Regions from separate parts of the Homo sapiens genome. Here region 1 is linked to region 2. The links are contacts of gene promoters, found by promoter capture Hi-C in human tissues and cell types (Jung and others, 2019). All regions are on one chromosome and are shown on one strand. The core of a region is centred on a gene start or on the middle of the fragment in contact, and the rest is flanking DNA. Distances in the headings are between cores, read along the strand shown. Region 1 has its middle 14 kb from the start of C2orf80. Region 2 holds the start of CRYGA (crystallin gamma A).

Evidence for each region. Contacts are between HindIII fragments. The study calls those that stand out against the background at their distance.
Region 1: a contact is called between a fragment that was not itself captured here and the fragment with the promoter of CRYGA in region 2, in 1 of the 25 tissues and cell types used here (H1 embryonic stem cells).

Annotation. Positions count from the first base shown.
Region 1 is chr2:208,202,171-208,206,215 of GRCh38, reverse strand. No RefSeq gene overlaps it. Among named protein-coding and RNA genes, the nearest start is that of C2orf80, 14 kb to the right of the region's middle. The HindIII fragment of the contact is 3,472 bases long and covers 1-3,383 here.
Region 2 is chr2:208,162,163-208,166,393 of GRCh38, reverse strand. CRYGA (crystallin gamma A) reads left to right here and starts at 2,805. Exons shown (of 3, transcript NM_014617.4): 1 at 2,805-2,846; 2 at 2,948-3,190. The coding sequence starts at 2,838. It overlaps C2orf80 (chromosome 2 open reading frame 80), which reads left to right. Exons shown (of 9, transcript NM_001099334.3): 9 at 579-1,047. The coding sequence ends at 587. The HindIII fragment of the contact is 14,122 bases long and covers 1-4,231 here.

The DNA of each region.
Region 1 (4,045 bases), core at 398-2,897, 41 kb before region 2:
CACCATCCATATAAATTTGGGATTGTAGGGGGCTAAGAGATAAAATCTACTTTTTCTTTTTGCTCAAATTTGGAGCCACTGAGAGCTAGACACAGAAACCAGGCAAAGAAAATGTCAATTTAATTACTGATGAAGCTGATATTGAAGGAATGGCTTGGATCTAGCGAAGCTCCCTTATTAATACCTGCTAATGCCCTTATTGGGGCTGTCTCACCCCTCAAGTCACTGCATTGCTATATACCACAGGCCTACCTCCCCCATAGGGCCTGATCCTGTCACAGAGGAGTAAACTGAAGGTACTTCCAAATTTATGAGCCAGGTAAGTCAGCAGGGGATGTGTCCTTCCAAGCTTCATGAATATGTATAGAAAGATGTCTGTAAAAATGAATAAATGGCCGTATGGATGAACACATGAAATAGGAGTGACAACCAACCAAGAAGAATTGTAATTATTTTGTATTACAACCCAAAAACAGTAATGTTTCCCAAGAAGATGACTTTGAATGATAATCAATTTTTGAAAGAAGAAAATGAGCTTAAATTAAATGAGCTTTAATCAAAGAGCTTAAATCAAATAATTTTCTGATACTTGTCATCAAGAATATAGCAATTAGGGGACTGGCATGGTGGCTCATGCCTGTAATTCCAACACTTTGGGAGGCCGAGGCTGGTGGATCACTTGAGATGAGGAGATTGGGACCAGCATGACCAACATGGTGAAACCCCGTCTCTACTAAAAATAAAAAAATTAGCTGGGCGTGGTGGCATGCGCCTGTCATCCCAGCTACTTGGGAGGCTGAGGCAGGAGAATTGCTTGAACCTGGGAGGCAGAGGTTGCAGTGAGCTGAGATCACGCCATTGCACTCCAGCCTGGGTGACAAGAGCAAAACTCCGTCTCAAAAAAAAAAAAAAAGAATATACCAATTAGGTATATTATGCCCAGAGTAGAGTGGACACAAAGGAATTTCACCATAGAGATTCTGCAAGTTATTTTTACTCACTGTTTCTGAGAATCCAGCCTTGCTGTCTTCATCTCTTCTGGTATGAACCCTTTTTTGCAGATTATCATGGAATAACTGATGAAATGAATGTTCATATCTCACAAAACACAGGATTTTGGAGGCAGCAAGGGCAATTAAAACTACCTCTCGGCCAGGCACAGTGGCTCACGCCTGTAATCCCAGCACTTTGGGAGGCCGAGGTGGGTGGATCACAAGATCAGAAGTTCGAGACCAGCCTGGCCAACATGGTGAAACCCTGTCTCTACTAAAAATATAAAAATTAGCCAGACATGGCGGTGCACACCTGTAATCCCAGCTACCTAGGAGGCTGAGGCAGGAGAATCGTTTGAACCTGGGAGGCGGAGGTTGCAGTGAGCTGAGATCGCACCATTGCACTCCAGCCTGGGCGACAGGGTGAGACTCCATCTTAAAAAAACAAATAAACAAACAAACAACTACCTCTCTCTAACAGCAATACAAAGATAACTTTTTCTGAGCTGGCACCAAATTTAAAAAGAACTATTTTATTCTTGCAGAAAAGCTCAGTAAAATTCAACTTCATGCTTCTAGATGTGGCTCTAGAGATGGGATCTAATCTAACAGAACAGATTATAAATAACTCTGTTTCTAAATTTTGCTCATCCCAGGCACATTAAGATGGACCCATGACAATTACTAATTCTTCTGTCCATTTGTAGAATTTTTAATTGAAATACAATAAATATATAGAAAACAGCACATATCATGAGTATACAGCTCGGTGAATTTTTACAAGTTGAACATTCCCTTGTTAGCCCCAGATCAAGACCCAGAATGTTAGAGAACACAGGAAGTCCCCAGATGTGCCCCTTCCACATCCTGGCAACAAAGATTTAGTAACCGTTCCCCTGGCTTCCAAAAGCCTAGAGTCGTTTTACCATTTTTTGTACTTTATATACATGAATCAGATCATGTGTGTTCTGCGACTGCCTTCTTTCATTCTACTGTGTTAGTGAGACGAGTCTTTAGTTGAGTATAGTTTACACAGTTTTTTGAGGCAAGTTTGCTTTTGAGAATTTAAGGAATGGAATGAAACAAGGTTTCATGTGATTAACACAGGCAATTCACTTCTTCACTTTAGGATCAACAAGGCATGGCTTATCACAGTATCAAATATCCTAGGACAAATGGGAAAGCTAACTATAATTTATTTCAACAAGGAGGGAGATGGATAAAGGAGCGCTGTTTTGAACAACCTGAAGCTTCTGTTTCATGTTTGAAGCCTTCTAAAGTGTGTTTGTAACAACAAGGTCACTTGGGCTCTCAATTATGAGGCCTGGCTTCTGGCCTCAGCTTATCTGTGGCCTTAGGGATATTTCTTGTCCTCTGAGGCAGAAAATTTTACTCAATATTACCCTTCTAGTTCTTACAGCCTGTGATTCCATGTTTCCAACTCAAATCCCTTGACCATCTATCCAAACAGCGATCCCGCCTGCATCCAAACCAGCTGGTACAGAGAAAAGCCACAGTTTTAAGTTAGAAGTAATAAAATCAGTCTAATTTTACAAGTTAACTTTCCTTTTTTTCTTTTCTGTTCTTTCTTTTTTTTTTTTTTTTGACAGAGTCTTTCTCTTTCACCCAGGCTGGAGTGCATTGGCACAATCTGGGCTCACTGCAGCCTCCCCAGGTTCAGGTGATTCTCATGCCTCAGCCACCCGAGTAGCTGGGATTACAGGCATGTACCACCAAGCCTGGGTAATTTTTGTGTTCTTAGTAGAGATGGGGTTTCTCCATGTTGGCCAGGCTGGTCTCGAACTCCTGATCTCAAGTGATCTGCCTGCCTTGTTCTTCTAAAGTGCTGGGATTACAGGCATGAGCCACCACGCCTGGCCTAATAGGTAATATTTTAAACATACAAGTTCTGTAACATACAGTTTCTATCTTAAGATATCTTTAACAGCTTGTGTATCTAATAAGGAGACTTTTTTTTTTTTTGAAGCAGTCTTACTCTGTTGCCCAGACTGGAATGCAGTGGCGTGACCATGGTTCACTGCAGTCTCGACCTCCCTGGACTTAGGTGATCCTCCTGCCTCAGCTTCCCAAGTAGCTTGGACTACAGGCACGTGACACTATAGCCAGCTTTTTTTTTTTTTTTTTTTTTTTTTAAATTCTGTAGAGACGGGGTGTGGCCAAGTTGCCCAGGCTGGTCTGGAACTCCTGGGCTCAAGCAATTCACCCACTTGGCTTCCCAAAGTGCTGGGATTACAGGCATGAGCCACCACATCTGGACCTAATAAGTAGACTTATCTTAGAGTGTGGATGAGGATGAAGTGACAGGCCAGGGGGTCTATTATGTCTCCACCTCATATTCACCCCACTCTTGACATCACTCTAATTGTATCTACACTTGGAGTTGAAGAAAACAAACACAAAAATCTTCATGGGTCAACTTTAAACTTATATCTTATTTCTAGATCACGATGGATTCATATCCTTTTCTTCCGATTATTTTCTAAACAGCACATTTATATTACATTATAATTCAAATATTTTTATATTTAATTCACCATTTAAAACATATGACAGTTTTTACAAACAAATTTTGACTTTTTATTTTCATTTTTCCTATTATACTGCAATTCTATAAAGATAGAAATGCTGCTCAGCCTCAATGTGAGAGGCGTTGCTGGCAGGAAGCTAGGAGAATCTCTTCTATTCACTGCCCTCATAAAGGACAAATACCAATAGGACAAAGACTCTGCCTTCAAGAAGAACACAGTGAAGAAAAGACAGTTAATATGGCCACCTTAATTTTTTTCCAAGAGATGTTTTGGAAACATGACATGATTGGCCTTACCCAGACCTTTTATTTCTCAACAAACTCAAGGAGACAAATCATCCTGAAGTGCTACCCTTGGAAATATCTTCCTTAAAAACAACGATAATAGTAACAAAACAACTAAGAAAATTATTTGCTAACCCGATTGGAGAGAATAAAAGGTCATGCTTCAAAAGTTACCATTTTTTTTTTTGTCTAAGAACAAGTTTTACTTTAAAAATAAAAG
Region 2 (4,231 bases), core at 1,556-4,055:
TGCAAGAATAATATACAAAGAACCCACGTATTCCTTTTATACAGTCACGAATGGTTAATGTTTTGTTCTGTTAGCTTTATTATATTCTGTCTTTGTCTCTCTGTATATAGATAAAGATATATAATTTTTTTCTGAGCCATTAGAAGTTATGTATATATACTCTACCACTTTACTCTATGTACCTCTGTGTGTATTTCTTAAGAACAAAGTAATTCTCTTAAATAACCATAGAATAGTTATCAACTTCAGAATATCTATTATTGGTACTTTTATTTAATGTACTCTCTATACACCAATTTTGTCAATTGACCCAATAATGTTCTTTTTAAGCATTTTTTTCCTTCTGTATAAGATCCAGTATGGGATCACATATTGCATTTAGTTGGGAAATATAACTCAATTTCCAAATATATCAGAATAATTCCATGAAAATTCCTTTGTAATTACATTAATCTAATCTATCTTTGTCAGTAAGTTAGTATCTGATATTTGACCTTAACTTCCTATAGACTTAAAGTAATGTCTGTGTCCATGTTAAATTGATGTGCTTGATACCAAAATCATCTTTTATTCTGCAGGTCACTTAGAAAATTGGAATTGTACCATGGAACTTCATAATAGATTCTCTGGGAGCAGACGAGAAGCATCATCTTAAAACCACAGCTCTTGCCAGTACATTTTTCTTTACAACTGTTTTTGGTACAACTGCACTGAAGTGTTATTTTTGATGTTGAGCTTTCTTCTTTTAGAAGCATATTGCATGGCTACATTTTCTTAAAAAAAAAAACTGTGACCTTATGCTACTTCATTGTGACTGGAAGACTGCTGGAGAATTCAGAAAGTATATAGTATTTCTGTGTTAGAGCAAGCTGGCTTTGTAGCACATTTTACAAATGTGTGGCATTGAATATTGCACAGTGATGGAGTGGGAGGCAGATTTCCAAAGAGTTAATCCAAAATAAAATTAATCTGTCATTGATTGCCTTTACTGTGTTCTCATATGAAAAGAATGTTTAAATCATTTCAATAAAGCATTAAAAAAATGAATACAGGCTTTCTCTCAGTAGACTATAATGACTACTAGGAGGGAAGATGTTCTGGTCTTTTAGTACCTTTCCAAAATGCTGATTAGGCACATGGCTTAGCCTATCAATGTATGTAATAACAACTTGATCACATGAATGTCAGTACACATAATACATTTCTTAAGGTTTTGGTGTGCCATCTGTCTACAGAACAGTTTTCATCAGCATGTACAAAAACACAGATGGAGATTGTAGACTTTTTCTGAAAATGGTGGTATATTCTCATGTGGGGCTGGGAGACCAATGCAGCGTTTTCCACACTGGGTTTGATTATGGTTCTAAGATTTACCAGTAAGCCTGCAGCTAATTAGGGGGAGGCAAAGGAGGGAATCAGCAACTTGCGGTCCCTGCATGCACTGCTAGGTGTTTAGCTTCATAGGACTTCACCCAGTTTTCTTTTGCCTAGCTCTGCTAGTTATGAGGAAACATTTTTTTCTCGGTAGCTACTGCTGTCTCTCCTTTTACCACCTGCGCGTTTGCCTTACATGCTGCCTGAGGATTTTCACAAATGACATTGTGAATGTGTTGCTAGCTGTGGTCAAATACTCTTTTAGAATCCCTCGGTGGGTCTAAAGCACAAAGGTGTTTGATTTCATCTTCCTACATACATGTGGAATGACAAAAGACAGTCTGGGGTTTGGAGTCTTCCTCCACACTTGCACATCTGAGGAGTACTTCTAAATCAATAAGTTGGCAGCAATGGAGAAGGCTGTTAGGCAGTCACTTGGGTTCAATGAAACAGTGATACTATTGAAAGGAAAAACACAGGCAAATCATCACGCTAATTTTAAAAAATAAAAGCAATGCTAGAAGGAGGGTGGCAGGGGGAGGGGAGTGAAATGTTCCTGTGTATTTTTCTGCTCTTCGAGCCTCTCACAGATTCTCAGGGTTTCTTTTTATTTTTAGCTCAAGAAGTGTTTAATCTCTTGATTAAATATACCTGCTTCCAGTATTTACTGCTTTTCACCAGCACCTCAAAGTCATACATTTAAAGATTGATTTTATTATTTTTTCATCTCATGAAATTGTTATATTTATAATCGAATTTTTTTTTCTGTCTGGCTGAAGATGGCAGATATAATAGAAAATTAAGAAAACAGCAGCAAAAAACAAAATATAACAACATAAAGCTAAGATCTATAATCTTGCCATTCATTGATTACCATGATTGATATGTTGGTATAGTACACACTTCTAATCTTATGTTTTCCCTACATAAATATAGGCAAAATATTTTTATCAAAACCCTATCATACTGATGAAGTCACTTAAGAAATATAATTGTCTTTCAATTAGAGGATTTTCTGTCTGGGATTTTTTTTGTTGCCTCTTCACACTTCAAGTCCTTCTGGAACGCATGTGTTCTCATAAGTGACCTCAGATGGAACCACCAACCTCCATCTCAGCAGTTTCCATAGGCAAACATTGCAGAATGCTGGGCATGTAATGCATTTCTAGTGAGCTGCATAGGATGAGAAGTGTGCCCTTTGTCTCCAAGGTCATAATGGCTCTGCTGACTTTAATACCTTTCACTGGAGCTAGTGAGGACAACTCGAAAATGCCAGAAAGAGAGAGAGCCCACTGCCCCATGATCTCAAATGAAAAAAAAAAGAGAATACAGAAATCCCCCTACGCACCACCCCCAGGTCCCTTTTGTGTTGTTTTTGCCAACACAGCAGCTTCCCTGCTATATATACCAGTTGCCCCTTTGTCCCTATCATACTAGATGCTAATCACCCTCTGTCAACAACCATGGGGAAGGTGAGCCTGTGGAGGTGCTGTGCCATGTCTATTGGGGGTCTGTGGTGTGTGGGGATGTTCCTTCCAGCTGACTGTCTACTGTCACCTTATTTCTACCTCAGATCACCTTCTACGAGGACCGAGACTTTCAGGGTCGCTGCTACAATTGCATCAGTGACTGCCCCAACCTGCGGGTCTACTTCAGCCGCTGCAACTCCATCCGAGTAGACAGCGGCTGCTGGATGCTCTATGAGCGTCCCAATTACCAGGGCCACCAGTACTTCCTGCGCCGAGGCAAGTACCCCGACTATCAGCACTGGATGGGCCTCAGCGACTCGGTCCAATCCTGCCGTATAATTCCTCATGTGAGTCTTGCTTCAACTTGACTGATGTGAAAGCATCAATGATCCATGGCCATCAATTCCTGTTTATAAAAGTCAGTTTGTTCCAACACAGGATGAGTGTTCACAGTAAGAATAGCAAGGCCTGACCCTCAAACATATATAAAAAAAAAAAGTAACAATAATCTCTATTTTTCTTACTTAAGGACATCATTTTAGGGCATGGGAAATCACAACATAGCCTTTAAATTAAACTTGGTAACATCTAGGTGATCCCTAATTTCTACATAAAAGTCACCTTATTCAGTAGTAAAAAAAAAAAAAAAGAAAGAAAGAAAAAAAAGAAAAGTCTATCTAGTTTATCTAGATAATTTTTTTTTTTGAGACAGAACTTCGCTTTCGCTCTTGTTGCCTAGGCTGGAGTGCAATGGCACAATCTCAGCTCACCACAACCCCTGCCTCCCAGGTTCAAGCGATTCTCCCGCCTCAGCCTCCCTTGTAGCTGGGATTACAGGCATGTGCCACCATGCCCAGCTAATTTTGTATTTTTAGTAGAGACAGAGTTTCTCCATGTTGGTCAGGCTGGTCTCGAACTCCCGACCTCGGCCTCCCAAAGTGCTAGGATTATAGGAATGAGCCACTGCGCCCGGCCATGATAATTATTTTTTAATGATGAAAAGTTAACAGACTATGAGATAACAATATAGGTATAATGTATTCTGACTGCATTGGAAATTTTTTTCACTACATTCTAGGACTTACTAGAACCTAGGAAAATATGTTTCAACTTGTGTGGATTTATAATTTCCAGGAGTCATTATCAACTAGTTTCTTATAAATATCAGAGACACACAATTGATTAGGATTTCATAGAACATGGTCCTCATCAAAATGCTGCTTAATCTTTTTTAATCACGTGCAGCATGTATTTACACTTTCTGTTGGCACCAAATTATGTAGTGTGACAAGGAGATTCAAGAATTGAAATCACGGCCAGGCTCAGTGGCTCACGCCCGTAATCCTAGCACTTTGGGAGGCTGAGCTGGGCAGATCACTTGAGGTCAG